5 separate regions of the Homo sapiens genome follow, and regions 1, 2, 4 and 5 are each linked to region 3. Evidence: promoter capture Hi-C in 16 types of primary human blood cells and fetal thymus (Javierre and others, 2016). All regions are on one chromosome and are shown on one strand. Each heading gives the region's core, a stretch centred on a gene start or on the middle of the fragment in contact. The rest is flanking DNA. Distances are from core to core; before and after follow the strand shown. Region 1 overlaps LPP (LIM domain containing preferred translocation partner in lipoma). Region 2 overlaps LOC105374264 (a long non-coding RNA gene). Region 3 holds the start of FLJ42393 (a long non-coding RNA gene). Region 4 has its middle 67 kb from the start of BCL6. Region 5 has its middle 59 kb from the start of LINC01991.

The links. The method cuts DNA at HindIII sites, captures the fragments that hold promoters and counts their contacts. A CHiCAGO score of 5 or more calls a contact.
Region 1: a contact is called between a fragment that was not itself captured here and the fragment with the promoter of FLJ42393 in region 3, in 1 of 17 cell types (total B cells). The highest score is 5.0, in total B cells.
Region 2: a contact is called between a fragment that was not itself captured here and the fragment with the promoter of FLJ42393 in region 3, in 1 of 17 cell types (neutrophils). The highest score is 5.4, in neutrophils.
Region 4: a fragment that was not itself captured here is called in contact with the fragment with the promoter of FLJ42393 in region 3 in 1 of 17 cell types (neutrophils); the score reaches 5.1 in neutrophils.
Region 5: a fragment that was not itself captured here is called in contact with the fragment with the promoter of FLJ42393 in region 3 in 1 of 17 cell types (fetal thymus); the score reaches 5.1 in fetal thymus.

Annotation. Positions count from the first base shown.
Region 1 is chr3:188,519,094-188,521,793 of GRCh38, forward strand. The region is part of intron 5 of LPP (LIM domain containing preferred translocation partner in lipoma); the gene reads left to right. Among named protein-coding and RNA genes, the nearest start is that of LPP-AS1, 48 kb to the right of the region's middle. The HindIII fragment of the contact is 4,102 bases long and covers 1-2,700 here.
Region 2 is chr3:187,874,935-187,877,634 of GRCh38, forward strand. It overlaps LOC105374264 (a long non-coding RNA gene), which reads right to left. Exons shown (of 3, transcript XR_924813.3): 2 at 2,073-2,188. Among named protein-coding and RNA genes, the nearest start is that of LINC01991, 100 kb to the right of the region's middle. The HindIII fragment of the contact is 8,295 bases long and covers 1-2,700 here.
Region 3 is chr3:188,177,160-188,179,859 of GRCh38, forward strand. FLJ42393 (a long non-coding RNA gene) reads left to right here and starts at 1,384. Exons shown (of 1, transcript NR_024413.1): 1 at 1,384-2,700. All of the region lies in intron 1 of LPP (LIM domain containing preferred translocation partner in lipoma), which reads left to right. RefSeq lists an enhancer at 2,148-2,700. The HindIII fragment of the contact is 11,595 bases long and covers 1-2,700 here.
Region 4 is chr3:187,811,350-187,814,049 of GRCh38, forward strand. No RefSeq gene overlaps it. Among named protein-coding and RNA genes, the nearest start is that of BCL6, 67 kb to the left of the region's middle. The HindIII fragment of the contact is 4,554 bases long and covers 1-2,700 here.
Region 5 is chr3:187,916,166-187,918,865 of GRCh38, forward strand. No RefSeq gene overlaps it. Among named protein-coding and RNA genes, the nearest start is that of LINC01991, 59 kb to the right of the region's middle. The HindIII fragment of the contact is 1,279 bases long and covers 738-2,016 here.

The sequences.
Region 1 (2,700 bases), core at 196-2,695, 340 kb after region 3:
TTGACTAGTAGAATACTCACAGTGCCCCAAAATATCACCTCACAGATTATTTTTAATTTAAAAATCATGCAGTCATGCTTAAAATGGTGAAATCTGGTACACACTACCTTAATCGAGTCATCAAACTCAGCATCACCAAGCATGGGCCAAACTGACCCTTGAGCTTCCTGATGGGATGCAGCAGAAGGGATGTGGCCTCACGCATGTGATATTCCTGCCTGACTTATTTAATCTGAATCCAGTCATCAAGAAAAACCAGATTGGTTGGACTTTTTATAAGACACCTGACCAGAATTATTTTAAAAGTTGGCTTTATAAAAATCAAAAATCAGCTAGGAGCCTGTTCTAAATTAAAAGAGAATAAAAAGACATATCATTTTATGATGTGATCCTTGGATTTGGGGTGAAAATTAACAGTAGATAAAAGAACACTACTGGCACCACTAGTGAAATGTGAGTATGGGTGATATTAGATAATACTGTTTCTATGTTAAATTTCTCCAGTGTGAGAATGGTTTTGAAAAAATTAGAAATTCTTAGGAGATGCAAACTGAGGTGCATATGGGGGATGTCGGGGGGTGGTTTTGCAACATCTTACAGATGGTTCAATTGCAACAGCAAATCTAATTTATGTAGACAGAAAGCTAGTGTGATGAAATGGTGGCCACTGATGAATCTGGGTGAAGGATGGGTGAGTGGAGTTTATTTTAATAGTTGTTCAACTTCTCTGTGAATTTAAATTTTTTGGATATAAAGAATGAAAAAGTAAATAAATACAAATGAATGCTCTTTCATAACCAATTGCTGGTACTCCTCGTCTATCACCTGTAGTTAGTGGGTTAGTGATAGTTGGCCTGAAATATGACCCATTCAAAATCAGACTCTTGATAATGGCCTAAGTTCATTTCATTCACACGCTGTACATTTTGGTTCTGGGCTATTTATTGGACTGTCTTTATGTACTTACAGTGGGGGAGTCATCATCCTATAATTCTGCTGGCAGCACTTATTATGATTTGTCAAGTCATAATAAGTCCCAACTGTGGTTTGGTGAGCTTTTTATCACATATGTATTCAGATAATGCATAAAAATAAATATAAAAATAACATGTTCGAATGGTTTATTCATAGGATTTTTGTGGTCCTTGGTAAAGGGACGCTGTCAGTAGACACCTTTGGTGCCCCACCTCGCATCTTCCCCTCCCACCTTCGTGTACCAGCAGCTGCTACAGCGATCAGCTCTGCACAGGTGTGACCTGGTAGCACTTGGCTTCAACTGCAACACCTTTCACTCACTTTCTGTGCCGGGCCTTCTCTGCAACCATTTAACTTCTGAGACTTGTGAGACTTATTCACAACCAGGAGAACAGTATAGGGGAAAATGCCCCCGTGATTCAATTATCTCCCACACGGTCCTGCCCACAACACATGGGGATTATGAGAACTACAATTCAAGATGAAATTTGGGTGGAGACTCAGCCAAACCATATCTCCTTCCTTCTCTGCTTAACTCCTTCTAGTCCCTCAGTACTGTTTCTCAGAATTGATTCCCAAAATAAATGGCCAACATGCGAGCTTTTCTCACAGGCATTGTTTTTCTTGGCAGAACACAGACTAAGACGATGTAATCTTTGAAATCTCTCTAGTGATGGTTAAAGAGTGTGGGGATTGTTATAATTACATTAACTACTTTATAAAAGTTTGTGGTGGTAACTAGAAAAAGCATTAGTCAGGAGAATCTTCCTTGTTGCTGGCATTGGGAAGGTCATTTACCAGTCAGGTAACTAGCACAGCTACAAAGATAGGGAGTTAGGAGAAAGACATGTTGGTAAGTCTATAGGATTCTGTTGCTTGGTTATAGGACTTTGGATCCTGGTATCTACTATAAGGGATTGAGAGTAGCAAGATCCCCTAAATCGAAAGGTAAATGAATATCTACAGATTCGTGGCAGGACTTGGGCAGGACAACAGTTATTTGAACTGAGATATAAAATTGAGACTCAAGAGTGAAAAAAAGGCCTATTCTAATTCATAATGGAATTGAAATGTAGGAGTAAAGCTACTATAGTATTTGCACAATCTTCTCCCCTCTCACCCCACGCTCCCCTGTTATCCAGTTTTTGTGCAAAATCACACAGCATTAGACTGGAACTTGTGATAAATTGCATCAACCTAATTTGAGAAACTGAAAATAGGGAGCAGTCTGAACTTAGAGGGTAGGGAGAATAAGGACCCTGGAAACTAATTGATGTCTTACAAGCACAGACTGGTTGCATATCATAATTACTTGTTTTATTGTGTAGTTCAGGGTAATTCTGTGACTTGTTGAGTCTCAGTGGTTAGATATTGCAGTGACTTCAGGCATAGTCAGTTGATGTACTTTCTGCTTCAGTAAAGTACAGATGTAGAAGACCTGATTAAATCCTGTCTCTTTACTAATACCCCAAGGGAACACTTAATGAATGATGCTTCCCTCAAGAAGAAGAATAATTAACAATAGCTATATTATTCATATTAATTTATAGTTACTGGTTGCTATAATTAATGCTATTTAGGAAAATCATCATAATTATAGCACTTTACAACTTACAGAGTATTTTCCCATCCATTTTCTTATCTAAATCTTATAACATCACCCTGGCTTAGATAGAACATGTGATATTCTCTTCATTTTATAGATGAGAAAACTATGGCCCAGGG
Region 2 (2,700 bases), core at 170-2,669, 300 kb before region 3:
CTTATTGAGAATCACATGACTTTAAATATTGCTGAAAATTTTATAAAGGCTTGTCGTCATGTTTAGGATGTCTTACTCATCATCGCGGCCTCCTCTCATCATTCCGTTTCTCATGACAAAATATACATTTACATTGTAAACAACGATGGATACAAATCCGTTTTCAAAATATCTTCTGGACAGGTTATTTTGTCCTTTGTTGACTTCCTGTCAGCTCAGGTTAGATGATAATTGCTTTTATCTTGTCACATGGCTGGCAGAGTTTTTACCAGGAGTAGAAAGGGTTAACTCTGCCATTTCCTTGTTGTCTGGTTGTGTTTGCAACGTAAGTATTATCTTCAATCTACTGTTTGCAGAGGTTTTCTTTTTCTTCTTTTTTTTGAGACAGAGTGTCCCTGTGTCTCCCAGGCTGGAGTGCAGTGGCGCGATCTCAGCTCACTGCAAGCTCCGCCTCCCGGGTTCACACCATTCTCCTGCCTCAGCCTCCCGAGTAGCTAGGACTACAGGTATTCGCCACCACGACTGGCTAATTTTTTTTTTTTTGGATTTTTAGTAGAGACGGAGTTTCACCATGTTAGCCAGGATGGTCTCGATCTCCTGACCTTGTGATCCACCTGCCTCGGCCTCCCAAAGTGCTGGGATTACAGGCGTGAGCCACCGCGCCGGGCCTGCTTGCAGAGGTTTTTTAAGGCAGAAATCATTTTAACTCACTGAAGTCCATTTTGAAAGATTAGGTTAATGGAAACTGGATAACATCATCCATAGATCCGCTTGATGGGGCTCTTGTAAACTGATGAATGTGACGATACACTGAGAGTTCAAGAAAAAATAAATGTAGATTGCCACATGGTTCAACTCCTCTTCTCAGGTGAGAGGTATTTCTCAGGTGTCATAAAGCATGCAATTGTCAAATGCACATACAAACAGCAATATAGGCAGTAGTGCCCGTGCACTTATTAAACATTCATTCAGTTGTCTTTCTTTTCTAAATTTAAAATATAAACAATTCTTGGTGGTTATGTAATTCTACACATGCAAAAAAGTTGCATAGAAGCACACACACACAAATAAGTGCATATAAATACGGGAAATACAAACAGACTCTGGCTTGTACTGATGTCCATTTCCTTGTTTTAACAAGACTGCAGTTATGCAAGATGCTACCACAGAGGAAAAGTAGGTGAAGGGTGCAGTGAGACCTCTCCATTTTCTTTCGGCAGCTTCTTGTGAAGTCTATAATCATTTCAAAAATTACATAAATAGAAGTTCTAACATCCTGGCATCCCAGTAGATTCGCTGCACCTCCAGGAGACTGCACCCTGTTGGAGCCATGGCCTTGGTTCACCGTGAGACCTGGAGGGAGGCATTTCCACTCTTGAGGCTAATTTCCCTCATCTGTAAAATGCACAGTTTGGCCCAAAGCTCCACTCAGCTCTAAAATTCTAGGATTGTATATGCACAGTTTGGTGTAGGGAGGTGTAAATCTCACTCAGATTATGAGCCAGCTCTAGGTGGTGAAGGGAAATGTGCTCAGCTGTTTGATATAAAGTCTGCTTTCCTGGAAAATGAACTTGGAGCCATTTACCTCTTCCCATTGGCTCCTTCAAAGGGTTTTCTGACTAAGGAAACACAGAAAGTTTGAAAATATTTTCATCAAATACCTTGAAAACAGCATCACCAAAACCAAATAAAAGGAAAAGGTAACATTACTTGCTGAAGATGATGACCTCTCTACTGAACCTTCAGAGTTGATTTAGAGCACATGGAAGCTATTCTCTGCTTCCCTGACCTGTTTAGGCTGCTCAAAATGCTAGGTGCAGAGGAAAACACCCTTTTGGCAGCCAAGATGGAAGAGATATAAGTGGATTTGTAGTAAGAGTCTGGGCCTGCAGAAATTTGTGTCACCCTGACACTGAAGAGGGAAAGTTGATTGTTCTCCAATGCACAGCAATTAAAAGCTCATCTCTGGAGAAAGTCGGGAGGCAGGGGTTACATATATATATATATGTATTTTCACATCTGCAGACAATTTTTTAACCCTGGTAACTGATTGATTGGGATAATGTATTTACCTTGGATATGGAAAGCAGGAAGAACAGTTCTTGCGTGACTTTCAAGGTAGTCTATACCTTCAAGTGTTTTCAGCTATGTATCTTCTTTTGATCTTCTCTATTTTCTTGGATTTATCCTACAAAAATAACCACATGTTAATGAAAAGATAAATATATAAGTTTGCTTACTGCCACAGTGTTTGAACTTTAAAAGTCTGGAAACAATTTAAATGTCCAACAATAGAGGACTAGCGAAATTATGCCAGTGGTTTTAAACTTGACTAATGAATCAATAAAATAAGAAGAAATGACATAAGATTGACATCTTTAATTTTGTGTAATAAACATTTAAAAATACTAGTAAATAAAAATACTATTGTCCCATCAAATAAAGGATATTTTGACACCGAAAGTAAAGGGAATCCCATCACAATAAAAGGCCTCACCAGAGAAAAGATCATTGGCAAACCATGCCAACATATGAGAGTAGAGCAAGAGGGTCCTTAATGCAAAAAATGGCAAAATCTGAATAGAGTGTATAGATTAACATTAATATTGTATCAATGTTAACTTCATAATTTTGCTAATTATACTGTGGTCGTGTTAAAAGAATATCCTTGTTTTTAGGAAATACACCCTGAAGTATTTA
Region 3 (2,700 bases), core at 134-2,633:
GGCCTGGGGGTGGTCCAGTGATGGTTGAATGGGTGGGCCAGCCCAGCGAGGGGATCGCCTGCAATCCAGTAGAGATGCCCTCATTTTCATGGCAGGGTCCCCCTGTGCCAGTAGACAGACCCAGGCCTGGGAAGGAGGGCTGGTTGAAGTGAGATGGATACCAGTCTTGGAGCATGGTTGGAGAATCTGTCCAGGGTGATGGCATCTGTTTTGGATTGGGGCCTTGAGGCACATTTTCAGTTCTGCTCCCTGGACCAGCATAGGAGGGTGGCAGACAGTACAGTGATTTGAATACAGGATTGATCCTGCCACCTTGATTTCTGCCTTTATTTAGCGGCAAAGACACTAGATCAGAAAAGTACTGGATGTGATTGCTGTAGTCTTTCATGATTGATTTAGGAGCTGGGAGAGGCCTGGCTAGGAGTTGGAGGATCCCTGGGAAGATGAAGATTAGGTCTTACGTGAGCCTCAGCCCTCTCCTCTGTAAAATGGGAGTAATGATGGTAATTATGCTGATGTTACCTATTCTGACTGGAGTAAGGATTAAAGTACTTGTCTGGAGGAAGGCACTTCATGGTTAAAACATGAAAAGAGAAGTGCACAGTGTTTTTATTACAGGGAAACACCAAAGAGCTGGAAAGGAATGAGGGCTGGAGAGATGGAGCTGCCCTGAGGACTCTGGGAGGTCATCCTGGGGGCAGAACTTTGACAGTTGCTGCCCGAGGTGGGACAGGGATGCTGGGAAGATGTGACGATGTGCATAAGTGTGTCATGTTCAAGATGGTTCTAAGCCCTGGCCAATTCCATACATGCTCTTTTCCTTTCTCATCCATAGAGGTTTTGGCAAAGGCATACTTGGGAGTGTTGATATAGCTGACACTGCAGCACCCTCAGTTTACAGGTGTGAGAAGAGTGAGGCTCCCACAGTCTCACTTGGACAGGTAGTCAGGGCTCTGATGGAGCTCCTGGAGTTTCTAGGTTCTCTGTCACTTGATAGTCAGTGCTGGGAGGGACCTCAGGGAATCAGCCAATTTCACAGATGGGGAGAGTGAGGCAGGTTGGGAATTCTGGCCCCAGTGGAGGGCACCACATGCCCACAGGGAAATGTCTTTCCCAGCCCCCTCCTCATGCTTCTCCTCTTTTCTGTCTGGAAGTCCTAGTTCTCCTCCTCACGCTGAGACCCAGGTAGGGTGATTGTCCATGTTTCTTCATTTATCTGTTTTTTTTCTGTTGCCCAGGGACTACTCTAAGCACCATGCTGGTTGCTGACTGTTCGCTTTTGCAAGATCTTGGAATCTCTGTTTGTTCACATCACAACTCAAGAGGATACGTTCTCATTCTCCCAATGTTTGTCTTCTGCCCATTGCATCAAATTGCTCTTCCTTGTTTGGAATTAAACTTCTAGCAATCATTTACCTTTATGGTTCTCTTAACTTCAGGTCACACTGTTGTTTAGTCAATGTGAGAATCTTTCAGATGTTCTGCACTTTGCAAAAGGATATTCACAGCCAATGTGTGCGGCAGTGAAGGACACTTGTTGATTCCTTATTTATTGTCTGCTGTTCCAGGGACCGGGGACTAGAGGTGAATAAAGCCTTGTTTGGGCTGTCTAGGATGTTGTGATCGACACAGGAAACAGACATGAAAGCCAAATTGGCGCAGTGGGTGAAGTATTGTAATACTGGTCTCTGTTTATGATATATGGAAGAAGTTTCCTAGTAGCAGGGTGGGTGAGAGAGTCCATCATCATTGCAGATTGGTGCCTCTGTGGACATGCAGGTATATTAGGCCAGAGGTGGGGAGTGGGAGAGAGAGGGAGAGAGAGAGCACGACAAAGAGAGAGAGAGAGAGTGAGCAAGAGAGAGGGAGGGAGAGAGACAGAGAGAGAGAGAGAGAGAGAGAGAGAGTGAGCAAGAGAGAGGGAGGGAGAGAGACAGAGAGAGAGAGAGAGAGAGAGGTTTTGAGAGCATTGATATGGGGTCTACATATTCCCCCCGGCCCCCATTCCCTATTATCATAGAAGCATGCTGCCCTCCAAGGCTTTTGAATTTGCCACCGTGAAGAGCATGCATGGAATCTTCGGCTGTGGCCTTGCATTGCCCCCTGTCTTCGCAGCGGAGCTTCTTTATCTGACCCGTGCATGTGCCTCTGATGAGCAGCCCTTCATCACAGCTCTGCGGCCTCCTCCTAGGCCCCCGCCTTCAGCTCTCCAGTTCATTTCCCGCCTTGTTCCCATTGCCACCTGCGGGCTTGGAGGGCCACCTGACATTCTGTCCTTTGGGTCCCCTGTGACTCCAGAGCTCCTTCCCTTCTGGGGCGCCCACATCTGCGACACGCTTGTTTGCCCAGTGCATTTTCTACACTTAGAGTTCCTCTCGTGCTCTCATATTTCCATTTAAAGCCCTCTCGAGAGGTCTGTCTCCTGCCAGCAGCATTCCTTCTAGTTTACTAGAACTCCATTTCTCATCCTGCCAGGAATCCAGCCGTGGAGTGAGCTTCAGCAAGCCTCTCTGCAGTCTCTTGTCTGCTCCAAAACTGTGGCCTCTGGTTGTGAGAAATGGGCATCCTGAGTCAGTGAGAGCAGTAGTTAGCTTGCAGCAGCTTCCCCTCTCCCCCTGAGTGAGCCTTTCTTCCTCTTCCTCCTCTTTCATTCAGCCTCATCCTGCCTTGGGTCCATTTGACAGATAATGGCACCTTGAG
Region 4 (2,700 bases), core at 47-2,546, 370 kb before region 3:
AGAAAGATGCTCACCCCACGACAGAAGAGAGACAGGAAACCTGGAATGCTTCTGAAACATTGACTGGAAATCTTACTCAATGTTAAGAGATCTTAGTGTATCTTTACATGGTAACATTTCTAGACCAGATAGGCAACGCTTAAAGAGAAATCTATACTCCTTTCCTACTTTCAATTTCATTCTCATTAGCTGCTTTGATTTTCTTGCTGGTGACTCTCAGCTGCTATGGATCCTTATTATTGGGAAGTACAGTTAGTCCATGATGGGGTTCTAAATTGAAGTAACTGATAAAGTATGAGAATATTAGGGCTAGAAGAAAACTTAATGATACTCTGGCCATATCTTCAGTTTCCAGTTGAGTACAGTGGGTCTGAGAGAGGTTGAGTGACTTCAGGCAGGGTCACTGGGTACACTATGGACTGCAAAACATTGAATTGCCCCACCACGTGAAAGGAGGTTCCTTCCATCTGACAATGACAAACCACTTCCCTTTGTAATACTTAGGTGTCTTTTATGAATTATTAATGGATTGTGCCCAGTTCTACAGAGCCGAATGTGTATTGCAGCCTAGTCCTAACAAATCCACTGACATCTGCATGAGGTATGGATCATGAGATATCCTCGCCATCTTTTGTTTCATGGAAAGACCAGTAAACAGAAGTCAGGGGAATTTTCCAAGATTACATGGTGAGTCAGCAAAGGCTCTGGGGCAACAAGCTGTTACTGGATGAGGAATCGGAAGATACAAATTCCAGTCTTCACACTGTCTCTAATCATGTGGGAGATCTTGGGCAAGCCACTTCTGTCTCTGAGTCTCAGTTTCTTCACCCATAGAAGGGCTTTTCAGGATGGCCTCTAAGAACCTTTCAGCTTGCTGTGGCCTATGGATCTAGAATACAAGGTTCAGAGCTATTTAATGTCTAAAATATGATTGTGCAAAGCCAGAGATTGCCACAATGATACACCCTCAGAATTCTGGGTTTTGCCTCCAAAATTGGAAGTGTCTTAGCAATTTGTGTGCAAATAATAATAGTAGTAACAATACTTTTTTTTTTCTTAAATTATTTTCAAGCTCTTGGTGATTGCAGTACTTGTCTGCTTGCAAGGACAATCATATAACACAACAAACTAATAACAGACAATGAGAGAACTCAGAAATATGATATCTTTATTATTTTTACTTTTTGAAAAATAATAAGAAAAATAAATGGTATTTATGGAAAACTTACCATATGCCATGCAGTTTATATGTACCATCTGTTTTAAGATCTATGAACAGTGTTATCACGCCCTTTGTATAGATGAAGAAACTGAGATTCAATGATGAAATAATTCATCCGCTACGTACACAACTATTAAGCAATAAAGCCCAGAGTTGAAACCAGCTTTCTTGACTCCAAAGCTGATGTTTCCCACAATTACAGGTTGCATACATAAAATAATACTGCCTTGTTTGTTAGCAAAAGTGTTTTTCCATAAGAAAAGAAAATTAAATGTTCCATAAGAACATTTTATTGGACGTGACAAAGAACACCACCACGGCTTCCCTGGGATGCAACATTTGAACATCTTTGAAAACAGACCAAAAAGTTTGAGGCATTAGTCTGACTTTCCCCCAGTAATTTAGGAGGGATAGATACCTATGTCTAGAATTATTCCATTCAGAAATATTTATTAGTATGTCCATAAGATCTAGGGCCAGGTGGCCATTTCTTGTTTGGAATTTGCATAATTTCACATATGCACTAGACCTTTGTCTTGACCCACTCCCTATTTATTCAATCCTGTAATCCTCCTAGAGATATAGGGCAATATTAGAGCAGACTTGAAGAAACTGTTTCTGATTCAGAGTCTCCCCTAAGAGGGGAAGTGTGTATAAGGTCCCCTCAAAGTCATCCATACAAACAATTTCTAAGCCTATAGACCAATCCAGGACCAGATCCCGTATGTTCATTCATCCAACATTTCTTGACAGCCTTGGATGATTCCAGCACAGTGAAAGACTAATGCTTCCAAGACAAATAAGATTTAGCCTTGAGCTGACCTTGGACACCTAATCTAGGCCAGGCCTAGACTCCAGGAACAACCATGGGCAGCTCCATTTTACCAGCTTCCAAGGTCTAGAAATAAAAGTGAAGTGATATGACAGAAAGTCCTGCATTTTCTGTTTGGGCTTTCACCAGAATGAAAATTACTGTACCCCTTTTGTCATGCTATAATTGCCAAGAACCAGATAATGTTAAAGTTGGAAGTGACACTAGAGATTTAGTTGTCACTTCTGTTCCAATCTCTCCTTTAGAGATGAGGTTACTGAGGTTCAGAGAGTGAAAAAATCATCTAAAGTCACCAACAGAGCATGGGGCAAGGCTGGAATTAAAACCCAGGTCTCCTGGCTCCAGGCTCAATGCTCCTTTCACTGCTATTGTTTAATTGCCTTGGTAATGGGAAAGACATTAGCCGAGAAGAAAAAGAAGCCAGTCTTTGTTAATGAAAAAATGTGATTCAATGGATAGGTGGATCTGTGCTTCCTCTAGCTACCATGGCTCATGGTTATGTTGGGCTAATTCCATCGCCTAGTAGCAAAATGCCTATGCTGCAGCCACTATGAATGTCCTGAATGCAGCAGACTTTTTCATAGCTCTGCACACTACCTTCCCTGAATCCGGAATATCCTCTCATTTGTCCTCATAGCAAACAATT
Region 5 (2,700 bases), core at 127-2,626, 260 kb before region 3:
TCATGGGGACTTCATTAATCCTTTACCCTGTGAAGTGTTTTGGAGTCATAGCCAGGGCTTTTGTACAGAAGGGGACTTTGATGACCTTCAAACCGTATTGATAGGGTAAGTTCCTAGAGTCCCCGAGCAAACAGGCCATTTCTCCTCCAGCTCTCTGTTTCCTGCTGTGCAGAAACTCTGCATAAAGGTAAGAGTTGGTCTGCTAAAAAGATCCCTGGTCTTAGCCCCAGAATATTTGGGTTCTAGTATCAACTCTAACCCCTCACAGACATGAGGCTATAGTGACATTCCCTCTCTGGGCCTTAATTATCTTTTACAGAAAATGATGAAATTAGGCATATTTTCTTCGTGGTTCCTGTCAGAACTAATGCTCTATGAATTGAATTTGTTCAGACACCAAATTGGCTAGTTAAGAATTCGATTCTTTTCTTCTTTCCCCTGATGTTCTTGAGGAAAAAAATAATAACAAAATAATGACTTACTCTATACCAGGCACTATGATAATATGTTTATGCTTATTATTTCACTTGCCAACAAACTGGTATGAAGGAAGAAATGATTCAACTCAACTGCAGCAGCAGTTCCAGCGATCTGGTTGGGAGTTAATACTGATGCAGCCCAATTGTCCCCACCTCCTGCATTTCTACCTCAAATCCTTGAAAATGACAAGTCGCGATCTTAACAATGGTATTAGGTGCTAATAGATCCTGAAGTACCTTATGGATCATAAAAAAAAAAGCTTAAATCATACCCACTATCATTTTAGTGATTAGCAAAGTGTGTTGTAATTTACTTATTTTGAAACCAAGAATCAGTAAATGATATGGAGGGTAACCCAATGAACCAGAATTTTCCATTGCTCAGAATGCCCCATTTCCTAGCCATTTTGGATAAACAGGAATTTACTATGGCATTAGAATAATAATAGCCTACAAGGACTAGATTCTGGTAGCTGTAGCCTTGCCAACAGTCCAGCAATGTGTCCACTGCAGAGATCACTGTCCACTCCAGCCGGGTATCACCAGGGCCCAATCAGACTCCTTTTCAGAAATCATGGGCGGTGTTTCCATGGAGCTCTGCCCGAAAAGAGGTGATCTAAATCTTGCATGAGAGATGTACATCAACAGGGAGCTTTGCCTAGAACACTGTGACCTAAAAAATCATATTAAGGAACTCAGAATGCAGAGTCAGTTTCACAGACACCAAGTGACCTTGTGCAAGGCACCTCACGTATTGCCTCGCCTTCTTGACACCCCCTAATGAATGGTGACAGCGACACGCCCCAGCCGGCTGGGGCAGGCATTCTGATTTTCACTGCTCTGTTTCTTTTTCTTTCTCTCTCTCTCTCTGTTTTTTTGTTTTCGTTTTTTTTTTTTTTTTTTTTTTTTTTTTTTTTTTTTTTTAAGGCAGCCTGCTCCTTATATTAATCATCTTGCTGTTTGTTTAGTTCTGGGAAGGCAAGCACTGATTCACAAAGGAAAATCTCGCCTAGTGGTCAGATTGAATAGTATCTTTGCTACATTTCGGTTTGAAGATACCACCCAATTTATTTTTGATATTTCTTATATAAGGTTGCACATGATACATTTCTTGTGGAGTTTAGGGCTAGAAAGGGCTGGGTCCCCCTTGATCCATAGCTATTCTTCCTTTACTAGAGGAAGAGGGCTGTGAAATGCAATGCATGTTCCTTTCTTGTCTAAGCTGCTGGGAAGCTCAAAATCACATCATATGCTTGATTAAAATTATTCTTATTCTGTGTTTTTTTCTTCGAGCTGTCCTTTCATGACAAGGTCTTAATCTTTCATCTGTGTTTTAATGATCCTGTAATTTCTGTGACTAACAGTATATGTTACTTCAAATCCTTTTTTAAAGTAAGTGGCATGCAAATAAATCAATAATGCGGACAACTATGTTTTATAAAAACTTTGCAGATAAGAAAATCGGAAAGATTAAACCTTATTCTATGATGAAGTCTGAAATTTCATTTCTAACACAAATTAATCATTAATATTTAAAAGCTTATACATAGTAATAGCTATGAACCTTTGCATATCCCTTACCATTTATAAGGCAAACGCTTTCACATATGTGATCTCATTTTGTAATTAGCATTCACACTTTACAGATGAGGAAAGTGAGGCTTAGTGAGATTAAGTTAGTAAACTCAGATCTTCTGACCCTAGGCCAAGTCTCGAGTTGTTCTCCCCACCCCGCCCCCAACATCACTTTGCCTCTCATTGTCTTCTCATTTAAATCAGCATTCTTCTCACTACCTCTAGACAAACGCTTTGTTTTTTTAATGTGTCCATCAGAATTAAGCAAAAAAGCCATTTCAAGTGTTTATTTCTCTTACTGGGAGGGTATGCAAAAAGTTTGGAAACCACTGATTTAAGGTCTAAAGGGTCAAGCTTGAAGCTTGGAGTGGTCACTTCTAGAAGATCTGAACTCCCTGTCATCCTGGGGTTCCCTGTGTCAGTTTAATGGGGCAGGGGGAGACATCCAGTCTCTAACATACTTTTCTTTTCTAAATAAATGTAATGCCTAAGTGACACACAGATACCTGTAATACCTGTTGACACCAAATCAACAGATTGCTGGGAGAGTCAAGGAGAAGAAAGTTTCGTTACTCCCTAGGGCTTGTTGGTGAGAAAACACATGTGAGTCTTTAAATTGAAAGTGTCAGAGACGTGTTGTTCCACC